Regions from separate parts of the Homo sapiens genome. Here region 1 is linked to region 2. Evidence: promoter capture Hi-C in human tissues and cell types (Jung and others, 2019). All regions are on one chromosome and are shown on one strand. The core of a region is centred on a gene start or on the middle of the fragment in contact, and the rest is flanking DNA. Distances in the headings are between cores, read along the strand shown. Region 1 overlaps POP1 (POP1 ribonuclease P/MRP subunit). Region 2 holds the start of COX6C (cytochrome c oxidase subunit 6C).

Evidence for each region. Contacts are between HindIII fragments. The study calls those that stand out against the background at their distance.
Region 1: a fragment that was not itself captured here is called in contact with the fragment with the promoter of COX6C in region 2 in 1 of the 25 tissues and cell types used here (dorsolateral prefrontal cortex).

What each region holds. Positions count from the first base shown.
Region 1 is chr8:98,156,355-98,161,460 of GRCh38, forward strand. It overlaps POP1 (POP1 ribonuclease P/MRP subunit), which reads left to right. Exons shown (of 16, transcript NM_001145860.2): 15 at 1-58; 16 at 1,263-3,481. The coding sequence ends at 1,917. Among named protein-coding and RNA genes, the nearest start is that of NIPAL2-AS1, 18 kb to the right of the region's middle. The HindIII fragment of the contact is 5,544 bases long and covers 1-4,181 here.
Region 2 is chr8:99,891,946-99,897,149 of GRCh38, forward strand. It overlaps COX6C (cytochrome c oxidase subunit 6C), which reads right to left and starts at 1,762. Exons shown (of 4, transcript NM_004374.4): 1 at 1,694-1,762; 2 at 1-107. The coding sequence starts at 76. RefSeq lists enhancers at 604-1,252, 1,253-1,900 and a silencer at 1,374-1,543. The HindIII fragment of the contact is 7,152 bases long and covers 1-3,461 here.

The DNA of each region.
Region 1 (5,106 bases), core at 160-2,659, 1.7 Mb before region 2:
ACCAGGAGGCCAGTGAAAACCATGTTGCTGCCACAGGGAGTCACCTCTGCGTTCTCAGGTAAGTGTCGGTGACTTCTGGGTACATTTTGGATTATTTATTTTAATATTGAAGAGGCTACAGGATGTAAGCGTTATCACTGTTTGTTTATGCAAAATCCAAGTGAATTTATAGGCTTTCTGGAAGGGAAAGCCAGTCTTTTATATTTCATAGAGGGCTCAGGGAAACAGCTTAATAATATTTGATGTAAGGCATGATGCTAATTGATGAAATGATTTACAATATTGTCATCAATAGATCCAAGCCAAGGCAGTTTTTTTTCTGACATATTTTATGCAGTTTGAGCAAGGATTCTTTGCTTTAAATTACCAAATTAGATTTCTTCTAGTTCCTTTTGAATTATATGGATTTGTGTTAGAGCAGCAACCCATTAGATGTAATATAGTCCTAGCCAGAGAGGCTACCGGATACACTATGTTCTCCTCTCAGTATTGGTGTGGGCCAGGTTCTGCTCATCAGTGACCCTGCATTCTGTGCTTTGCTCTGATTTTTTTTTTTTTTTTTTTTGAGATGGAGTCTTGCTCTGTCACCCAGGCGGGAGTGCAGAGGTGTGATCTTGGCTCACTGCAACCTCGGCCTCCTGGGTTCAAGCGATTCTCCTGCCTCAGCCTCCCAAGTAGCTGGGACTACAGGTACATGCCACCACGCCTGGCTAATTTTCACCATGTTGGCCAGGCTGGTCTCGAACTCCTGACCTCAGGTGACCCGCCCACCTCAGCCTCCCAAAGTGCTAGGATTACAGGTGTGAGCCACTGCGCCCGGCCTGTGCTTTGATTTTTAAAAAGTGCTTATCCCTCTAGCCTTGTGCTTACTTTTCCGTATAGTAGCCTCATAATTTCCTATCATTCTTTCTTACTTTACATGTAACAGTCCCTTACAGTTCCTTTACTCATTGAAATCTTAGTGGCTCTTTATTTTCACCCTCACTGTGATTACAATCCTAGATTCTATCTCACTGTCTTGTTTTCCCTGCCTTCAACTTCTTAAATCTTTAGTCCCTGAGTTTCAGAATGGCAAACACATAAAAAGAAAAATATAAGTACTAAAATGTACTACAGTGTATTTCTAATTTTTAAAAAATTGTAGTTTTGATTCTTATATAGTATAAAAGAATCAAATTAATTCTAGCAGTGTCTAATCTTCTGATTGCATATTTTTTTCTGGAACAAAATATCCTCAAACGTATGTCTCCAACTTCATGTAGGAGTAGAAAATTACTGAAGCAACTGTCAGCCTGGTGTGGGCCCAGTTCTGAGGATAGTCGGGGAGGCCGGCGAGCTCCCGGCAGAGGCCAGCAAGGATTGACCAGAGAGGCTTGCCTGTCCATCTTGGGCCACTTCCCCAGGGCCCTGGTTTGGGTCAGCCTGTCCCTGCTCAGCAAGGGCAGCCCCGAGCCTCACACCATGATCTGTGTCCCAGCCAAGGAGGACTTCCTCCAGCTCCATGAGGACTGGCATTACTGTGGGCCCCAGGAATCCAAACACAGTGACCCATTCAGGAGCAAGATCCTGAAACAGAAAGAGAAGAAGAAAAGGGAGAAGAGGCAGAAGCCAGGACGTGCCTCTTCTGATGGCCCGGCGGGGGAAGAGCCCGTGGCTGGGCAGGAAGCTCTGACTCTAGGGCTGTGGTCAGGCCCTCTGCCGCGTGTGACGTTGCACTGCTCCAGAACTCTCCTAGGCTTTGTGACTCAGGGAGATTTTTCCATGGCTGTTGGCTGTGGAGAAGCCCTGGGGTTTGTTAGCTTGACAGGCTTGCTGGATATGCTGTCCAGCCAGCCTGCAGCGCAGAGGGGCTTAGTGCTACTGAGGCCTCCCGCCTCTCTGCAGTATCGATTTGCGAGGATTGCTATTGAGGTGTGAATGCGTGCTTGTATCCCAGCAGGGCATAGATAATACGTTATTATTGTCTGCCAAGTTCTACATGTGGAGAATCTGCTTCTGCTTTAAAATATCATGTGAAACTCCCTGGAAACAAGAATAAAAAATTATGTATTATGCAGATGATGAAATGTTTACATCATTCCAGTAATGTCATTGATTTTCATCTTTCCCTGTCCTTGCTGTAATACTTTTAAATTATTTGGCCAAAAGCTTTGTATTATGATCTCTTGGTCTGTGTAGTTGTGGCTGAAAATAATGAGAAGCTCTACGAGTTATCATCCCCTTTTTTTGTTAGAAACAAAGGGCTTGTCAGGTCTATTTGAAAAACCTCATAGTCATGTGATAAGCAACAATAGATGTTTAATGATTTCACTGTTATAGCAGAAGACAAGAGAAGACGCTTGGCCTCTGTACATGAAATATGGGCTCCTGATGGACCTCATTCAATTCTGTACTGTGATTTCCATGCCGAACAACTCAAGCCTTAAAGAGAGAAATCATGGACAACTGATTTCTGCCTGTTTTCAGGCAGGCACAGTTTATGGCGTCAGTGCTAGGCTGGAATTAGAAAGTGGGGGTCTATGACGTGGACTTCCTGACTCTTTGATCTCTTTGTTGTTGACCAACACTTGATCCTACTAGTTACTTAATTTTTTTAAGTAAAAAATTATTATTATTTTGTTTCTGCAAAGATTTTCTCAAAGCCATAGAGGAGCATTTCTCAGAATATGTTCTATGATATGTGTCACCTAAAAAAGTAAGAGATTCCAAGGTCAGGTTGATATGGAAACTCTAGGTTAAATAAAGTTAAGCATTTCTTTATGAAAGAACTTCTGGAAACTTCCATGTGATAATGTGCATTGCGGATCTCTAGGAAGGAAATGATAGTGTATAGTATTTTCTAAATACTTGTGATTCCTAAAGTTCTCTTACAAGGAGCCCTTTGTAGGACCAGTGTTCTTAGTAGCGCGCTTTGGGCAGTGTGGCTGTGTAGTGCATAGCTACCTCTGCAAGGTGATAACTAAGCCGGCAAGCTGCCTTTCAACACTCATGCAGTCACGTTGTCCACCTGAGATTCTCAACAGGGTATAAAAGGAAGGTCTCATCTTGCCTCACAGGAAGAGTGGGCTCAGTGTGGCTTTTTTCCAACTATGGAGAAACTCAGTGCTCATCTACTTTAAGTTTCCACATATGGCTTGCTCATAGCCTTGGTCCTTACCTTTCCTGCCATAACTTTCTAGAAGAGCTTAATGGGATTTTTTTTCTAAAAAATGTAAATATGCAGTTAGGCATTATTTTATGTAAATGCATTGGGTTTTTACTGTAGCATTTGGCACTAAATGGCTTTGGGGGTGATGAGGTGGGGAAGGATACAGCAGGTGGTACAGTAGTCAGGAAGTACCTGCCACCAATGAGATGTCTGATGCTTTGCCTCTTACCATGCCTCTGAATGTCTTTGGATCCAACCCAGATGAGACTGAAAAAAAAAAAACAGTGTAACTAAGTGGCATCTGTAAACAGAATAAATGAAAATGTCACCTGATGTTCAGTTGTGAATATTTATATTTATTGGACCATTCCTTATTTGTTTTCTGGGCTCTCAGTCACCTCATTTGTGGCTGAGCTCACTCGATGACAGAAGTCTGAGTGTGCTGCGTGGTCACCTAACCTCATTCTGTACAGCCCTGCCTAGGGCCTGCTGCCCCGCCCTCATTATAGGGGACAGGGCACGTTTGCAGCCACTCTGCCTGGTGGGTGGTAGGTCAAAGAGCTGCGCACCAGAAAGATAGATTAGCATTTCCCAAAATGTATTCCTGGGAGTACTAGTCCCTGCAGCTGTTCCTGGAGAAAAGTATTTTATGGCTAAATAAATATGGGAAAAGCTATATATGGTATCCTCCTATTATGATTCACAATGAATACTTGCAGAGTCAAAGCTCTGCAAAGCTCTTTAGGAAAGAAATCTGTCTTTCAGACTCCCACACACGTACCTTTTTTGGTTTTTGCATACCTATTGTCCAGAGAACACTAGTTTCACAGAAGATACGTTGAAAAACTAACAGACTCTGCAGAGGCAGTAAAGAATCCATGTTCCTTATGAAAAAGACTGATAGGGGAATGGCTTACTTTCTGGCAGTTGAATTGATTAGCGTGTTGATCTTGATCCTTCCAAGTGCCTGCCATGCTGTACTAGAGCTACATAGCTACCAAATAAGTGCAATGTGGCCCTTGTCCTCTTGTTGAGGGAGCAATGCTTTTAGGGTTCTTGAAGCATCCTGACCAACATGGTGAAACCCTGTCTCTACCAAAAATACAAAATTAGCCAGGCATGGTGGCGCATGCCTGCCATCCCAGCTGCTTGAGAGGCTGAGGCAGGAGAATTGCTTGAACCCGGGAGGCGGAGGTTGCAATGAGCCGAGATCGCACCATTGCACTCCAGCCTGGGTAACAAGAGCAAAACTCCATTCCAAAAAAAAAAAAAGAAAAGAAAAGGCAGAGTTGTGAGCTGAACACTTACAGACCAGCTATGCACTTGAGTTCTGTAAGAAACAATGGATTCCTTTTGGTGTTTATGCTCTAGTAATATTGTTCATATCAGTCATCCATATTCATCATAAAACAATTAGAAAATGAAGATGAGCAACAATAACAAAATTTAAATCACCTGGATTTTCACCATGCAATATAACTAGTTACCTTCTGTTATGTATCCTAGACGTTAAGATGTATGTGGGTAGTTTTCTTTTAATAACATAAGCCGTTGCTTATATAAAGAGCTATACCATGCAAGTGCAGCAGAGTGCATGTTACCAGTTTTTTTGTTGGTGCTTGACTGGCAAGAGCTTTAAGGATAATACTCCTTTTTTTTTTTTTTTTTTTTAAATGGGAAGTTAGTATGTAACCACCCATCATGTACTAAGTGTAGCATTGCCGTCTTGGCGGCCACATGCCTTGCGTGAGTTCTTTCTTCCCAACCAGTGGGAGGTGAGGGGGGCGGTTGACAAGCTATATGGACTCCCTCATAGTCTTAACTGGCCTACTCGTAGCCAGCCGATCTGAGGCCTGGGGAGCACAGAGATAGGTCCAGGATTGAGCTGTTTAGCAGAGAATACATAGCCTGTAGCAACTGTGGGCCACTCAAGCATCAACCCCAGTTTCACAGCGGTT
Region 2 (5,204 bases), core at 512-3,011:
CTACAGCCATATGATTTCGCAGACGCCTGGCCAGAAGGCCACGCATCCGAGGTTTTGGCAAAACTTCGGGAGCCATGGTAGTTACTGTCCTTGATACGTATGCTAACCTTAAGAGATTCAGAAAATATGATTAAGTACAGAGTTTATTTAAGCCACAAACTTGAGAATGGCCACCTGGAAGCATTGATTGGAGCTGCCCTGAATATACACTCCGATTAGCAGCAGTTACAAATGAATGTTTTTCTTTTTTGGCAGAAACAGGGTCTAGCTATGCTCCCCAGGCTGGTCTTAAACTCCTGCCCTCAAGTGATCATCCTACCTCGTCCTCCCAAAGTGCTGGGATTCCGGCCTACAAGTGAGTTAAGAAAAAATGAGAGGCAATTCCTAAACTGTTTATCAAAAATTTACATTAAAATAACATAAGCTATTGACTGACTAAACGCTGTCCTTTATATCACAAATTCAGGAATAAGATTTGGGTTGAGACATGGGTGAGGGGCGGCACTGAAGTCCAATACTCAGGTCTCTGCGTCCTGCATACCTCATGTAGCTCTCACTACTCTGAGCTTTTTTTCCCTTTCTCGGGTAAAATAATAAAAGAAAAACTCAGAAAAGATATCAAAAGGAATTCTCATGCATAGTACATTTTACTACCTAGAGAGGCACAGCACGACAGTGGATGGATTCCTCCCACAAAGCCTAAGCTGTCTCTTGGCTTAGCCTGTTTCATCTTCCCCCCGCCCCCCATATACTGAGCGACCACCCTAAATAAACGCGACAAACTGCGGCACACTAGTAATGGACGAGCAAAGGCAACAAAAATCTTTCCAACAACAAGAAAAATAAGCAGTAGCTCCGCATTGGTAATTAACGATTGCAAACCCATTTATGCAACACTTTCTCTTCTAAAAATTTTCTGTCCACTCGTTAAACCTTCGCGACAACCCTGTCAGATCATGAGGCAGGTGTTTTCCACGGTCACACGGTATACCATTAAAACCTGGACGGGAACGCGGCAAATACCATGAGGGCCCAAATTCCCTAACTGCTCCTTTGCCCAGCCTCACCTAAAGACCTAAGGGGCCTAAAAACTTTTGCGTCCCTGCTGGCCTTCAGCTAACGCGGCCGGGGGTAGGATGGGAAGCCGTGGGGCAAGGGAGGTTGCAGGAAGCCCATCCTTCCCCTCCTGCGGCAGGTACGGTGACCCTCCTCCAGTTTTCCAGCTCTAATTTAAAACGCTGCCACACAGCGAGCGACGCTGCCAGCTGCTTCGCCTACACTAACCCTTGCGCCTCACGACCAGCTGCATTAGAAACCACCACCCCTTTTCTCACGGGAGAAACACCGGGGCCAGATAGGTCAAATGACCTCACCAAGGTCACAATGGCTGTGAAAAAGCGCAGCGGGTACCAGCCCCGGGCCAGCTCACTCCGAAGCCAGCTGGGTTCTCGAGGGTCCCGCAGCCCACCCGGCTTCGGTGGGGCCGTCGCAACCCACCCCGGTCCGTGGTCCGCCCGCCGCCCTCCCTCAGGCCGCAGCGGAAGCGTGAGAGAGTAGATGCGGGAGAGGCCTGAAGCTGCACCACGGCGGAGACACACAGTCACGACTAAATCCGAGGCAGAGAGAAAGCGGGAGGGTGCCGTTGTGACAACCCGCAGTGTCGGGGTAGGGATGCAAAAGGGACCGGACTCACCTCAACACCAACGTCCTTCCTGACTAAAGGAAAAACGAACCGTGCTGTAGCCGCGCGCAGGCGCAGAATAAGAGTGCACAGCGAGAACGCGGCGACGGTAGCCGAAGGAGTTCAAAAGACCTCTAGTGCGCCCACCGCAGGTGACAGCCGAAGTTCATTTCGTGGTCTGCTTCTTTCCTGTGTGACCTTGCAAAACGGGCTTGACCTCCTTATTTATCGACCTCTTTATCTTCTTAGTAAATTGAAGATATTAGTCGTACTCATACACAGAGTCCCAAACCATGTGCACAAACCGACATTTTAATTATAACCAACCTTACGCGAATAACCGTTTGGCTTGGGTAAAAGTGAAAAAGCTGACTTCTAGGAGCTCACAGCCCAGAAGATGAAAAAGACAAACAGATTAATACCGATCCCATGCAGTGGGCACTACCACAGAGACGTGGCCCAGCTACTGCAGAAGCAATTCTCTACCTGGCAAAGCTGAGGACGTTTTGATAGAGGGGCGGTATTTTTGTGGGTTTCTTAAGAAAACAAGGATTTTGAAGGAAGGCAACTGGAAGTTCGTGGAAAGTGGTGTAGAAGGGTGAGGCTCTTGTGCCTTAATGATGCCAGGCTGTTTGTATTGAAATAACCTGAATTTTAAAAGCATTATTTAAGTCAACCCATCAAGCCCTGTGGAAGGTAGCTGGGACACAACAGATGCATGATATTGAGTCGATATATACACTGAGTACCTACTATGTGCCAGATTCTGCTAAACAAGAGGACAGATCTTCGGGGAGTCTCATTCTGATCAGGGAGTCTTTGTCCTCAACCTATTAACCAACACTCTGGAGGGTGAAACCTGGCCACAAAGAAAGGTGCTCAATTGAGGTTCAAAAGTAGGTTTGGACTTTACCAACGTTTTTCAGGCCTCTTATCAAGGGTCTACCCAGCTGAAAATCTTTGCATGGAATTTGTCCAGAGAGTAATTTGTTTCTATTCTCTTTCCATCCCCACCCCCAGAGAAGAAGTGGTGAACTTAAGAGTTCACAGGGATTAGTGTATGTGAAACCATCAGGGAAAGCTTCAGACAATACGTGGAAGAGATGGAAGCAGAGCTGAGTTTCAGTCTAATGGAAAGCCTGGAAAACTGGAGAAATTGGAGAGAAAACATTGGCTGGGAGAACATGGCAAAGACAGGCACACTCAGGGCACAGAGCCTGACCTGAGTGAAATACTGAGTGTTTGTTCTGTGCTTCCCTAGCTATCCAGTGAACCATAGTGAATGACTGAGGGTGACACGTGAATAAAACCTGAGCGATAGATGAAGAGAGACATGTTACATATAGGTTCTGTTCTAGAGCCGAACAGACCTGGATTTGAGTCCCAGCTCATCAACTTGTAGCGGCAAATTTCTTCATCTTTCTAAGTCTGCTTTCTCCTCTAAAAATAGTACCCATTTTGTTGGGTTGTGATGTAAATTAAATGGGATAATGTATATGCAGCTTGAGTATCCCTTATCTGAAATATTTGAGACCAGAAGTGTTTCAGATTTTGGATTTTTTCAGATTTTTGAGTATTTGCAGAATACATGCCAGTTGAGCATCCCAATCTGAAAATCTGAAATCCAAAATGCTCCACTGAGCATTTCCTTGAGCATCACATCAGTGCTCAAAAAGTTTTGGATTTTGGAGCGTTTTGGATTTTGGATTTTCAGATTAAGGGTGTTCAACCTATACAGTGCTTGACAAACAGACATTCTGAATATGCATTCCTCCCTGTGTTCTTTTGCCTGTCCTGCATTCCTTCAATCTTTCTTTTAGTAGCAGTGCTTAATCAATCCTTCATCACTTCTAGCCATGTGATTCTACAACAGTCAAATCTTATTCCAGACTGGGTGTGGTGGCTCACACCTGTAATCCCAGCACTTTGGGAGGCCAAGGAAGGCAGATTACTTGAGCCCAGGTGTTGGAGACCAACCTGAGCAACATAGACCACCATCTCCATAAAAAACTTTAAAACTTAGCCGGGCATAGTGTGATTTATGCCTATAGTCCCAGCTACTCAGGAGGCTGAGGCTGGAGGATCACTTGAGCCCAAGAGTTGCAGGCTGTAGTGAGCTATGACTGCACCACTGTACTCCAGCCAGACAGAGTGAGACCCTGTCTTTAAAAAGAAAAAGAAAAAACATTATTCCAGTTGAGCAGATGACCCAAGAGTAGCCAAGCAATGTAGCCCATCCCCTTGGCCACAGTAATTTGTTGAGGATGGGCACAGGATTCTGGCCAGGCCAGTGAAACTCAATTCTATGACTTCTGTTGAAACTACTGGGGGAAAAGATATCTTTTTATAGAGAGAGGAGTTTGCATTGGGTTGCAGTAGGGGTCTTGCAGATCTGTGAGAGTATAAAGCCAGAGGGTACTGTGTGCCTATAATGTGCCAAGCACAGCACATGACAAAATGGCATGAAAAGCCTCATGAAGCTTTCATTCTAGTGGGCTTCGAGGAAAAAACCAACAAAAATAAAAAATATATCTGAAGGAGGTAAGTGGAATGGAAACAACAGAGTAGGGGTAAAGAAAGTCTGTGTGAAGAGGTATCTTTTTATATTGAAAGGTTGATGAAACAACCCATGAAACAAGCCCATGGTCTTCACTAAACTAAAAGATGCCTCAGTGGAAAGACTAGGCTTGTTCTGCATAGCCCTAAGGAATAAAGTAGGATGGATGGGTGGAAGATACTGGGAGTTAGATGTCAGTTAAGTATTCCCCATGGCTAGAAATCAGTCCCTTTCAAGGTCATCCTCAACCAGAGACACATCCACTTGGGGGAGACAAGGATCCCTTAATTGGTAAAGAGGCATACCAACAGTCTTGTTCCCACTATATCTCTCCATTCTGGCCTTGACAATCACCAGGTCAGCATGTTACCTTAAAATGTGTTGATAAGATGCCACTTTTTAAATACAAACTTAGGGGGAAGTGGGGTCCAGGGTAGGGAAACAGCTGGTTGCATGGCAAGAGTGATGCCGTCTTGAAGAAAAACTGCCATGATGACCGATGTTTGACTACTGCATACCAAGGTGTTTCCATGGCATGGATAAACCCTCATAAAGATGTTTATCTAACCTCCCCAGTGGTCACAAGTTTTGCTAGAAAGTCTGAGGCATGACCAGCTGCATGTTTTACCAAAAAAGCTTGCTATATAGAGGATATTTTCTGGAGCACAGATGCGGGGATCTACCATCCCTCAGCCAACAGAGAGATTGTTTCTGTTCCTAAGTCCCTTTTAAATGTTTCTTCCTGAGAAACTGGATTTGTCAGTCTCTCTCTTCAGCCTTTGGGGGCAAGTTTGCATAGACCTGCTCACCACTGTTCCTTGTTAACTGTGAATCCTGTCCTTAGGACAAAAGACCCTTGACCATTAATCTTTCCCTTAGGCAGATTTATCAGCCTCTTTTTCAGCCTTTCAGCTTCCTCAGACTTTTGGGGGTAGGTTTGCCTAGGCTGCCTACCGCAGCACACCC